2 separate regions of the Homo sapiens genome follow, and region 2 is linked to region 1. The links are contacts of gene promoters, found by promoter capture Hi-C in blood cells and fetal thymus (Javierre and others, 2016). All regions are on one chromosome and are shown on one strand. Each heading gives the region's core, a stretch centred on a gene start or on the middle of the fragment in contact. The rest is flanking DNA. Distances are from core to core; before and after follow the strand shown. Region 1 holds the start of PGLYRP1 (peptidoglycan recognition protein 1). Region 2 has its middle 12 kb from the start of PNMA8B.

Region 1 (6,622 bases), core at 3,749-6,248:
TTTCCTACCTTCCCCATCACCAGAAGTCTCCCCCCGTGGAACGCAGCCACCATCAGAAATCTCTGGCCAACTCCGGGGGCTGGGTCCCCATCAAAGGTGAGCCTGGGACTCCACATCCCCTCTCCCAGCCCCAGGACCCGTTGGAATGGTAGTGCGGGCAGTGGTATATTGGGCCCAGGAACTCCCTGGGGCTTCAGGCCCCTCACAGCCCCCATACCCACACCTGCTCTCACAGAGTACAGCTCGGAGCACCAGGCGGCTGACATGGCCGAAATAGACGCACGCCTGAAGGCCTTGCAGGAGTACATGAACCGACTGGACATGCGGTCATAACGTGGAGAAGGGGTACTACCCCTCCATCCCCCACCCACTTGCTGGGTATGGTGTGGGGGGTGGGGCCAGGGTGGCCTCCAGCCCTGCCCAGTCCCTGCCCTGGCCCCGTCCCTCCTGCTGCCCCTGGGGTCTCAGGTGTGTGAGGCCCTGACCCTGCCCTCTCCCCAGGCAGTGCATGCTGGGAGGGAGGATGTGTGCATTTTGTAAATAAACATATTTGCCCTGGGGACCCCTCAGCTTATGACTAAAGGGTGAGGGTGGAGTGGGGAGAAATGTGGAGGAAGAGAAATTGGGGGGTATAATTGGGACCTGTGTGTCTGTGCCTCGGAGGCAGATTGGGACTCAGGCCTAGGAAAAGCTTGTACACTCTCTAAACAGTGCAAGGGCAGACCTGGGAGGAGTAGTGAGCAGCCCGTCCCTAAAGGAGTCCAAGCAAAGTTTCTGCGCAGGATGCCTTTGGCTGTGTGGTGGGAAGGAGGTGTCTTGCAGCGTGGTTCACTGCCCAGGAGGACCCCCAGGACCCACTGTTGGTGACATCCCGGCCGCCTTGGTGCTGATTCCTGGGCTCTGACCTGAGACCTCTGGGTTCTGAGCTGTGATGTTGCTCTCGAGCTGGGATCTCCGGGGTCTTGGTTCAGGGCCGGGGCCTCTGGGTTCCAAGCACCAGTGAGGAGAGTGCTGGGAGGGGAAGGGGTGGGAGGGCTTTGGTCTTGTGGGAGGGAGAGAAGGAGGGGAGGTGTGTGGTGGGACCTGCTGAGGAACACATTTTGAGCTACATCTTTATTGGAGAAGGAGACAGTGGGGTTTTTGGCCATGGGAGGGGAGGAATGGGGTGCGGATCAGCAGGGCCTCAGGGGGAGCGGTAGTGTGGCCAATTCTGGATGAGGTGGTAGAGCTGGTTGCCTGGAGAGAGTGTACGCTGCACATCCCGGTGTCCTTTGAGCACATAGTTGGACCTCAGGGCTCCCTGAGCCACACCGCAGGCCAGTAGACCCTGGGCTGCCCGGATGGCCTGGGGTGTGGGCACCCGATCTGGAGGAGGCAGAGGTAGGAGTCAGGCAGGGGCTTCCCCGAAGGGGAAGTGATAGCGTAGGGCCCCGTGTCAGCCCCCATCCCAACTGGCTGGACAGTCACTCACCCATGTAGTTGCCCATGAAGCTGATGCCAATGGACATGGGGTTCCATAAGTGACCTGAGTGGGCACCCGTGAAGTTCCAGCCACGGCCCTCGTATACGAGCCCGTCTTCTCCAATCAGGAAGCTGCATGGGGAGGTGGGGGGGCTTGATGAGTGAGGGAGGGTTTCCCGAGGAGGACTCCTCCTCCTTCCTCCACTCACCCTGCCTCCGTTACTGCCGTGGTGCACACAACTTCCCCAGCATCCTTCTCACCCGTTAATTTCCCACGATAGTAACAATGACTGTGGTCATTTATTGGGCCCCTGCCATGTGCCAAGCACAGCTCTGCATACACCTTTTTCCATCCTCACAGCAACCCTGTGAGTCACTATCACCCCCGTTTTATATAGACAGAATCAGAGCGGTAGAATCACCTGCCCCGGGGTCACACAGCCTGTCTGGGGCACAGCTGGGGTTTTTAACCAGGCCTCCATGGTCCCCACCCATGTGATCTTGTGCGTTGCTCTCTCCTGCCTCCCTAGAGGATTTGTGGAAGTCCTGTTTTACTGAATCCTTGCAGGACAGCCCTCTGAGGCAGAGACTTTTTTTTTTTTTTTTTTTTAAGACGGGGTTTCACTCTTGTTGCTCAGGCTGGAGTGCAGTGGCGTGATCTCAGCTCACCGCAACCTCTGCCTCCTGGGTTCAAGTGATTCTCGTGCCTCAGCCTCCTGAGTACCTGGGATTACAAGCATGAGCCACCACACCCGGCTAATTTTTGTATTATTAGTAGAGATGGGGTTTCACCATGTTGGCCAGGCTGGTCTCGAACTCCCGACCTCAGGTGATCTGCCCGCCTTTGGCCTCCCAAAGTGCTGGGATTACAAGCATGAGTCACCGTGCCCAGCCAAGGCAGGGACTCTTATCATCCTCATCTTAAGCAGAGAGAGCAGAGACTCAGAAAGCGACATAATTTGTACAAGCTACTCAGAGCCCCCTGCCTCTCAGAACTCTGCCTTTGCCCCAGCTTGCTTCCTGCCCTCGGGGTCCACTGGGGGACAGGATCACAGACTCAAAGTTGGGGTCGTAACCAGATACCGACCCTGGAGCCCCAGCACCTGCCTCTTTGAGGTTCCCAAGCCTGGCAGCAGATCCTTAAGGCTGATTCATTCAGCACATCTGATTGAGCGTGTCTGACTTGGCAAATGGGAATGAACTAGAAGATCAGTGCCTTGGAGCTGCAGTATGTGCCAACTCAGCCCCCGCGCTCACAGTGTCATTAATGACGCACAGAATGTCGGAACTTCCGAATCTTGAGTCCCGAATCTGCTGCTTAGGAAGCCAGCTCCCAGAATCTGGCCCCAGTGATGCTGGCTGCTGGGACTGGCTGGTTATGGCCCTGCTGGTGATGCTGGCTGCTGGGACTGGCTGGTTATGGCCCTGCCATATTCCCGGAGCCTGGCATGATGGTGCTGGGGTCGGGGGTGGTTGGTTCTCCCTGGTCATTTGTTGCATGAATGCATCTCATTGAAACCTCAGCCACCATCGCCAAGCGGGTACAGTCAGAAGCCCCATTTACAGGTGAAGAAACGAGGCTCAGAGAGAGAAGGTGACGTGACATGGAAAGGGGATTCAGAACGTTAGAACCAGATTCGGAATCCTAAAAGCTGAGGGCCAGACAGCGGCTGCTTCTGTATGTGGTGATGTGGACCCGAGGCTCGGGCCTTCGTGACCTCATGGGAACACTTAGGATCAGAGCGCCTGAGTCTTGGAAACAAAATGTTGAAGTTGGAGTCTTTGATAAAATCTTGAACTGGAAGGGCTGGGAATACCTTTGGACACTTCTAGACTTCTCTGGGTGGGTTTTGTGTGTGTGTGTGTGTGAGACACAGCCTTAGGAGGTCCTGAGAACATGTGTCCCCTGGGTGGGGTCTATTGAAGTGGTCTCTGGGGACCTGCATGTTCCTCCAATAAGCTCTGCAGGAGATTCTGATGCTTACCTGGGTCTGAGAGCCTGCAGGATTGAAAGTTCCCTCCCTGTGGAAACCGTCAGGCTGGACTGCAGCCCATTCTAAGGAGGAGGTAGCTGGTAGGCGTGGCCCCGGACCTGCTTCAGCCTGCTTCAGCCGGCACCCCTTACAGTCTGTTCTCCCCACAGCAGCCAGAGGGAGTCTCTTGTACCTACACTAGCCCTGGTCCCTGCTCTGCGGGGGGAAGCCTCCCATGGCTCCCATCTCGGAGTAAAAGCTACAGTCCTCACTGTGGTCCACAAAGCCCTGCCTGGTCCTGCCCTTTCCTCATTTCATTCCGCTCGCCCGGCTGTGTTCAGCCACCCTGTCCTTCCCACAGGACCCGCCCACTCAACCCCGTTGGCTTTGCCCCCAGCACCCCCTGCCACCTGCAGGCCTCTGTCTGCTCCCCCATCCCAGAGCCAAGGCAGCCACTCTCAGGGAGGCTTTCCCTTGCCCCACCCTTCCAAGGAGCCTGTGTGGGTCTGGTCCCAGCCTGAGGTCACCCTCCCTCACCTCTTTCCTTTTATCCATCGCCTCTATCACCGTCTGAATTCACCTGTGGCCTTGGCTTGTTTCTCCCTGCTGGTCTTTCAACCCCAGGAGGCTAGAGTGGCACCGTTCTCCATGCCACATCTGGCACACTGCCTGGCACATAGTAGGTGCCTAATGGTAATAGCCCGTGGCTTTGCGGGCCCCCGTGTGCCAGGCAGTTCCTAGGTGCTTTGCCTGTATTGGCTCATATAAGGAGCAGATGGGCCGCGATTCCATTGACTTTGCCGAGGAGGAAGCTGAAGCCGGGAGGACCCGCCCCAGGCCTCAGCCAGCAATAAGATGAGCTGACCCTGGAACCCAGCTCCGCACTGAGTCAGCCTGGTTTTCCGCCTCCTAACAAAGGCACCAGGCATCAGGAAGGGGCGCCTTCATAAGGCGTCGCGGACACCTTGGTGTGTGTTAGGCAAAGCCTGCCCCTTCTTCCCGGGAGCGGGAGCGGGGCTTGGATTTCAGCCCATCCCCCCTTCTCACGCATCTTTGTGCTGTGAGCACCTGCCCCGGCCCACGTGGTGACCCGAGGAAGAAATGACCTTGTGAGGTTCAGTAAGCTGCTCAGGGTGTCAGCCAGGTGGCCTCAGCACCAGGCCTAGAAATGGTCCCGCTGGCGGGCACTTGCACACCTTTGCCTCTGGGATCCCCAGTCCAGCCCGTGCCCCCCTGCCACACTCACTTGTAGCCCACGTCGCACCAGCCCAGTGTCTTCATGTGGTAGTGCTGCACATTCCGGGCCTGCTGCTGGCACGAGGCGGGGGTGTTGCAGCTGCTGCCCGCCGTGTGCGATACCACCACATAGCGTAAGGGCAGGCTCAGGTGCTGGGCGCACTCTGATGCCAGGGCCTTCCACTCGTTCCGGGGCACTATGGGGCTGCAGCAGGCCGGGTCTTCTGTCTCCTGAGCCGCTCCGAGTCGAAGGAGGCTGGGGAGAGCCCAGGCAAGCAGCATAGAGCGGCGGGACATAGTGGCAGGGCGGCAGGGTCCGGGAGACCGCTAGGAGCGCCCGGTGGAGGGGCCGCCTTTATCTGCTGGGGGATTCCAGGAGTGGCCCGGAAAGTCTTGCTTCACACCCTGCTGGGACTTCCTGCTGGCCCAGCAGACCCCAGACTCAGCTTCCTTCTCTGGCTGGGCCAGGGCGGGATGCACTGTGGTTGGGGTCTGGGTCACGCCCACGGCAATGACAGGCCCCCTCGCTCAGCAGGGAGGGACGCACAGGCCCCTGGGCGCTTCGCCCCGCCGTTTCTGGAAGACCCGGGGCCGGGATCCCGGTCCTGCTTGTCTCTCCTCTCAGTGGAACATTGAACAACTCAACAGGAACTTACATCGCAGAGGCCCGGGGCATTGGCACATCTTCTCCCCGCAAGGACTGAGGTAACAAAGCTACCCATTTTAAAAACACTTCCTTCCCCCAGGTCCAAGCCTGATGCCATTTACGCTTGCAGCAAACTCAAGAGGTGAGTATCTGGAAGTCCATTTCACAGTGGAGTAAACTGAGGTTGAGAGCAGGGAAGTCACGGGCTGAGACACCGGAGGCACTGGAGCCCCGCGTCTAGAGCCAGGCTGCCTGCATGTGAATCCTGGATATGCAGTGTGTGAGAGCCTGCAAGTGGTTTTTAAAAATGTGTATTTAAAATTTTTTTTTTAATTTTCTATTTTATAAATAATATTTTCCTTTTTTTTTTTTTTTTTTTTTGAGATGGAGTTTTGCTCTTGTCACCCAGGCTGGAGTGCAATGGTGCGATCTTGGGCCACTGCAACCTCCGCCTCCTGGCTTCAAGTGATTCTCCTGCCTCAGCCTCCTGAGTAGCTGGGATTACAAGTGCACACCACCACGCCCAGCTAATTTTTATATTTTTGGTAGAGACGGGGTTTTGCCATGTTGGCCTGGCTGGTGTCGAACTCCTGACCTCAGGTGAGCCACCTGCCAGTGTTCCAGAGTGCTGGGATTACTATAGGCATGAGCCACCGTGCCTGACCTGTGTGGTGTGTTTTCATCTTCTGTGTTCTGCCTTCTCATATACATTGTACTCATGCTGTTACTGAATTGTGCACCAGGCATCTGTAGCACTTTTCAGAAATTATCATATACTCAACGACAAGCTTGCCAGATCCATGTTATTATTAACCCCTCTTACAGTTGACGGAACTGAGGCCCGGGGGGATGATCACATACAGGAGGTGATGAAGCCAGGGTTTGGCTACAGGCTTTCTGCCTGCAGAGTTATAAACCGTATTCTCCTCCCTACAAACTTATATAAGGACATTAAAAAAAAAAATCAAAACCATGTGCATCAATTTACCTTTTGTCACCTAATATTTCATGGGCATCTCACCAGGGCAGTACATCTAATTCTAATTTATTCTTTATAATAGTTGCACAATATGCTATAGTATCAGTTCAGCATTGTGGATCTTTTAGTTTTTGAAGGTTTTCCAGTATTTTCTCCACACTACGCAAAATATTTTCAGACATATATCCCTATGCACTGGTGCATTTATAAGTAAATTATAAACACAGAGTTATTAGGTCAATGAGTATACATATTTAATTAATATTACCAGATCATTTTCCCCAAAAAGCCATTAATAATTCATATTTTTCACCAGTAATGTTTTGG
Region 2 (6,167 bases), core at 1,000-3,499, 480 kb after region 1:
TATCTCTTTTTGTTTCTCATGGTTTTTGTGTGTGTGTGTGTGTGTGTGTGTGTGTGTGTGTGTGTGTGTGTGCGGTTTTCTTTCTTTTTTTTTTTTTTTAGCACTCAGCAGTAACGTGTCTAAGATTGATCCCAGTTCTGTATCTTGCTGGTAATTTCACCTGCTGAATGGGGCTGCATGGTTGTTAAACATTGCTGCAAGTTCTTTAACTCTGCTGAGAGGTGAGATCTACCTCCTCTTTCCTTGAAGCTGAATCTGGGTGAGTTTGTGACTACCTCAACTGCTAGTGTACATCCACTTGCTCTGTGTCTTTCAAGGTTAGCTGGATGCTAGGTGACTTCCAAGGTTAGTTATAAAAGGCTTTTGCCTGGTTCTTCTGGAATAATTACTGCTTGGAACTTAGCTGCCATGCCGTGAGGAAGCCCAACTCACATGGAGAGCTCTGCATGTAGGTGCTCAAGTCAACAGCTCCAACTAAGTCCAGTCTTCAAATCATCTCAAACCAGGCACCGGACATATGAGTGATGAAGCTTCCAGATGATTCCAGACCCTAGCCATTGGGGTCATCCCAGCTGTGGCCCCACACATTATGGGGCCAAAAGAAGCCATCCCCTTTCATAACTATGGACCCATGGAATCTATGGGCATAATGAGATGTTGCTGCTTTATGACACTAAGTGAGGGTTGGTTTGTTACACAGCGAAAGTAACCAGTGCACACCCAGATCCATCTCCTGCTCCCACATACACACAGCACAAATACTCTACCATAAATGTTCTTGTACACATTTTCTTATGATGTTGAATGAGAATGAGACACTGAGACTGCCCTTGGCATAGGTCCCAGGAGCAGAATTGCTTGGGTCTGCATATTCCTTTATTTATTTATTTATTTTTGTCACCGAGTGACAGTAGCCATCATGGCTCACAACAGCCTTGACTTCCTGCACTCAGGTGATCCTCTTGCCTTAGCCTCCTGGGTAGCTGAGACTACAGGTATGCACCACCACGTCTTGCTTATTTTAAAAAAATTTTTGTAGAGATAGGGTCTCACTATGTTGTCTGGGCTGGTCTCGAACTCCTGGGCTCAAGCAATTCTCCTTCCTAAGCCTCTCAAAGTGCCGGATTACAGCATGGGCCACTGCGCCTGACTAGGGTCTGCGTATTCCTAACTCTACCAAGTCCTACAAGTCACTCAGTGCAATGAATGTCCCTATTTGCTCACATATGAGGATTCCTGTGCCCCCAGTGCCCACTCCCACCTCTGGAGATTGTCCAGGCTTCTAGGATTTGCCCATCTCATGGGCATAAGGTGGTAGCTCATTGTTCTCCAACTACAAATGAGTTTGCACATCTCTTTTTTAGTTTATTTGGAAATCCCCTTCTTTAAATATCCTGTTCATAGTGTTTTCCCATTTTCTCATTGCTGTTTGTGCTTTTACCACCACAACTGTTGACTTTTTTTTTTTTTTTAGACAGTCTCGCTCTGTTGCACAGGCTGGAGTGCAGTGGCACTATCTCGGCTCACTATAAGCTCTGCCTCCTGGGTTCACGCCGTTCTCCTGCCTCAGCCTCCTGAGTAGCTGGAACTACAGGCGCCCGCCACCACACCCGGCTAATTTTTTGTATTTTTAGTAGAGACAGGGTTTCACTGTGTTAGCCAGGATGGTCTCGATCTCCTGACCTGTGATCCGCCCGCCTTGGCCTCCCAAAGTGCTGGGATTACAGGCGTGAGCCACCGCACCCGGCTAATTGTTGACTTTTTTGAACAGAGCCCAATGCAATTCCTAAAGGTATTTTAGCTCTTTCTGTTGCTCCAATAATATATTGTTAAATGTGAATAACATTTCTATAATACAAAGAGGATAGTATAACATGGTGCTCAGTAAATCTTGTATTGAACAGATGGAGGAAGAAAGGAAAGGAGGAATTATAACATCACACACACCATGCCAAGGGATGATCTTATGCCAGACATTGGCTAGAATAGCCTTTAATATATTGCTTCATTTAATCTTCACCACAGTCATGTAAAGCCAGCCCCATTATTATCTCTATTTCCCAGATGAGAAATCTGAGGCTGTGTGTGTGTGCACACACACGCAGGGTGGAAGGTCTTTTACAACTGGGAAGTGGTGAGACATCAATTTGACCTCAGGTCTCTGTGACTCCAAACCTCTGATTCTTTTGTTTGTTTGTTTGTTTGTTTTTGAGATGGAGTCTTGCTCTGTGAGCAGGCTGGAGCGCAGTCGCGTGATCTCGGCTCACTGCAACCTCCGCCTCCTGGGTTCAAGTGATTCTCCTGCCTCAGCCTCCCAAGTAGCTGGGATTACAGCCACCTGCCACCACGTCCAGCTAACTTTTGTATTTTTAGTAGAGACGGGGTTTCACCATGTTGGCCAGGATGGTCTCGATCTCTTGACCTCATAATCTGCCCGCTTTGGCCTCCCAAAGTGCTGGGATTACAGGCGTGAACCACCGTGTCTGGCTCCAAACCTCTGATTCTAACAGGGATACTAGGCAGACTTTCAGCAGCACCATCCCTCCTCAGCACTCATTCATTCATTTGTTCATTTAATCATTTAGCAAACACAAAGAACCCACACGTGTGGGATATGACTGTGACTACATCAGACCAGGGCCTGGCTGACATCATAGGGAGATCAGATATGAACCACTAATAACTACGAATTCATAATGATGAAAAGAGTGAATAAATTACTTCACAGACTTTCTGTGGATTTTCATGTGATGATGAAAAACAGTGAGCTGGGTCCCAATGTATTTCCTGGCAACTGGCCATGTTCTATTGTTGCAGAGAAGCAAGATATAGGATGAAGTGTATCAGTGATTCCATTCACACTAGAGCGGACCATGAAATATGGATTTCAACCTTAGTCAAGCCTCATCATGTTCCACCTTAGAAAATGCTAAAAAATGTTAACCCACTATTTGCAAAAGAAAACAAAAAGCTGGGCTGGGCGCAGTGGCTCACGCCTGTAATTCCAACACTTTGGGAGGCCGAGGCCGGTGGATCACCTGAGGTCAGGAGTTCGAGACTAGCCTGGCCAACATGGCGAAACCCCATCTTTACTAAAAAAGCAAAAGTTAGCCGGGCATGATGGTGGGTGCCTGCAATCCCAGCTACACAGGGGGCTGCGGCAGAAGAATCACTTAAACCCCAGAAAGTAGAGGTTGCAGTGAGCTGAGATCGCACCACTGCACTCCAGCCTGAGCGACAGAATGAGACTCTGTCTCAAAACACACACACACACACACACACACACACACACACACACACACAAATGAAAAACAATAAAAGCAAGCATTCAGTAAGATGTGACATGCACCAAGGAGGAGACACATGAGGTGCTGTAGGACGAGTAATGGCTCTGGGGGGCCGGAGGGGTTGTGAGAAACAAAATCAAGGTCCCAAGGGATAAAACCCACTCCTGGGGCGGGGCCCCGCGGCTCACGCCTGTAATCCCAGCACTTTGGGAGGCCGAGGAGGGCGGATCACTTGAGGTCAGGAGTTTGAGACCAGCCTGGCAAACATGGTAAAACCCCGTCTTAGTAAAAATACAAAAATTAGCTGGGCACGGCGCGGGCACCTGTAATCCCAGCTATTCAGGAGGCTGAGGCAGGAGAATCACTTGAACCCAGAAGGTGGAGATTGTAGTGAGCCAAGATCGTGCCACTGCTGCACTCCAGCCTGGATGACAAGAGGGAAGCTCCGTTAAAACAAAACAAAACAAAACAAAAAAAACACCACTCCTGGGAGGAAACAGCTAGTGACCCAAGTTGACCAGGGTCTGCTTTAAGACAAGGAATGAAGAGGTCTCCAAAGACCAGAGTATCCCAGGGGACCACATAAAAAAGTCTTTAGTTTTTCAAATAGTTTGCATGACTGGACCCTTGGGACACCGGCCTGAGAAGGAAGGAATTAGTCAAGAGATGGACAATGCCAGAAAAAGCTTTTCCTTGGAAAAAGACCCTGGTTTAAGTTCAAGATAGCCTCATGAGTAAAGAAGCAAGACACAAAAGTGTACATCTTTTTTTTTTTTGAGATGGGAGTTTTGCTCTTGTTGCCCAGGTGGGAGTGCAATGGCACAATCTCAACTCACCACGACCTCCGCCTCCTGGGTTCAAGTAATTCTGCTGCCTCAGCCTCCCGAGTAGCTGGGATTGCAAGCATGCACCTCCATGCCTGGCTAATTTTGTATTTTTAGTAGAGACGGGGTTTCTCCATGTTGGTCAGGCTGGTCTCAAACTCCCAACTTCAGGTGATCCACCCGCCTCGGCCTCCCAAAGTGCTAAGATTACAGGTGTGAGCCACCGCACTTAGCTAAAAGCATACATCTTTCTATGATTCCATTTGTATGACATTCTAGGACAGGCAAAACTATAACCTATGGTGGAAAAAAATCAGAGCAGTGCTTGCCTCTGGAGTTCGGGGACTGGCTGGAAAGGAACATGCAGGAACTTTCTGGGATGATGGGGTGTTCGGTATTTTTTTTTTTTTTTTGAGATGGAGTCTCACTCTGTCACCCAGGCTGGAGTGCAGTGGAGCGATCTCAGCTCACACTGCAACCTCAGCCTCCCGGCCTCAAGCAATTCTCCCACCTCAGCCTCCTGAGTAGCTGGGATGACAGGCACACCATCACACCCAGCTAATTTTTGTATGTTTTTGTAGAGACAGGCTTCTGCCATGTTGCCCAAGCTAGTCTCAAACTCATGGACTCAAGCAGTCCTCCCGCCTCGGCCTCCCAAAGTACTGGGATTACAGGCATGAGCCCCCGTACCTGGCCTGAGTTCTGTATTTTGACAGGCATTTGGTTTTTCAGGGGTATGTATTTGTCAAAACTCAGTGAATTTATACCTGAGATCTGTGCATTTTATTGTGTGTATTTTACATTCTTCTCTCAAAAGAACAAATATTAAACCTTAGTTAATGATATGAAGCATTAAGAGGGCAGTGGACAGATAATCTATAATTTATTTTGAAATGCACAAGAAAAGATGGCTTGATGGATATGGGATACAGCCACACCTGTGATACAGCAGGCATGATAAAATGTCAATGGTAGAATCTAGGAGGTGGGGATAGGGGCGCTTGTTGTGAAATCTTTCAACTTTGCTCTATGTTTGAAAGTTTTTGTAATAAAGTGTTGGAAGGACTGTAGTAAAATTGTTTTTTGTTTGTTTGTTTGTTTTGAGATAGAGTCTTGCTCTGTCACCTAGGCTGGAGTGCAGTGGCATGATCTCTGCTCACTGCAAGGTTCGCCTCCTGGGTTCACGCCATTCTCCTGCCTCAGCCTCCCAAGTAGCTGGGACTACAGGTGCCCACCACCACGCCCAGCTAATTTTTTGTATTTTTAGTAGAGACGGGGTTTCACCGTATTAGCCAGGATGGTCTCGATCTCCTGACCTCGTGATCCGCCCGCCTCGGCCTCCCAAAGTGCTGGGATTACAGGCATGAGCCACAGCGCCCAGCCTGTAGTAAAATTGTTTAAAAAGATGATACTGGGCCGGGCACGGTGGCTCACGCCTGTAATCCCAGCACTTTGGGAGGCCAAGGCAGTTGGATCGTCTGAGGTCAGGAGTTCGAGACCAACCTGGCCAACATGGTGAAACCCCATCTCTACTAAAAATACAAAAATTAGCCAGGCATGGTGGTGGGAGCCTGTAATCCCAGCAACTTGGGAGGCTGAGGCAGGAGAATTGCTTGAACCTGGGAGACGGAGGTTGCAGTGAGCTGAGATCATGCCACTGCTCTCCACCCTGGGCTACAGAGCAAGACTCCGTCTCAAAAAAAAAAAAAAAAAAGATGATACTGGGTACCAAGAGGGTGGGGGCTGGCACCATGGGGATCTGAGTATTAGGGAGAGGAGACCAAGTTCAGTTACTGCAGGGAAAAATGCTTATTGAGCATCTACTGTGTGCCAAACCATGTTCTAGGTACTGGGGACATAGCATCAAACAAAACACAAAAATCCCTGCCCTCATGGAACTGATGTCACAGGTGACATGGATAAGTGATAAAATATATATATATATATATATATATATATATATATATATATATATATATATATATATATATATATATAGTGGCTGGGCACAGTGACTCATGCCTGTAATCCCAGCACTTTGCGAGGCCAAGGTGGG

The links. The method cuts DNA at HindIII sites, captures the fragments that hold promoters and counts their contacts. A CHiCAGO score of 5 or more calls a contact.
Region 2: a fragment that was not itself captured here is called in contact with the fragment with the promoter of PGLYRP1 in region 1 in 1 of 17 cell types (M2 macrophages); the score reaches 6.6 in M2 macrophages.

Annotation. Positions count from the first base shown.
Region 1 is chr19:46,018,055-46,024,676 of GRCh38, forward strand. It overlaps PGLYRP1 (peptidoglycan recognition protein 1), which reads right to left and starts at 4,999. Exons shown (of 3, transcript NM_005091.3): 1 at 4,681-4,999; 2 at 1,472-1,593; 3 at 1,099-1,365. The coding sequence starts at 4,967. The coding sequence ends at 1,184. CCDC61 (coiled-coil domain containing 61) reads left to right here. Exons shown (of 14, transcript NM_001267723.2): 13 at 24-96; 14 at 236-562. The coding sequence ends at 333. It overlaps MIR769 (microRNA 769), which reads left to right and starts at 878; the gene lies at 878-995. RefSeq lists an enhancer at 3,607-4,492. The HindIII fragment of the contact is 5,413 bases long and covers 690-6,102 here.
Region 2 is chr19:46,504,485-46,510,651 of GRCh38, forward strand. No RefSeq gene overlaps it. Among named protein-coding and RNA genes, the nearest start is that of PNMA8B, 12 kb to the left of the region's middle. The HindIII fragment of the contact is 3,443 bases long and covers 529-3,971 here.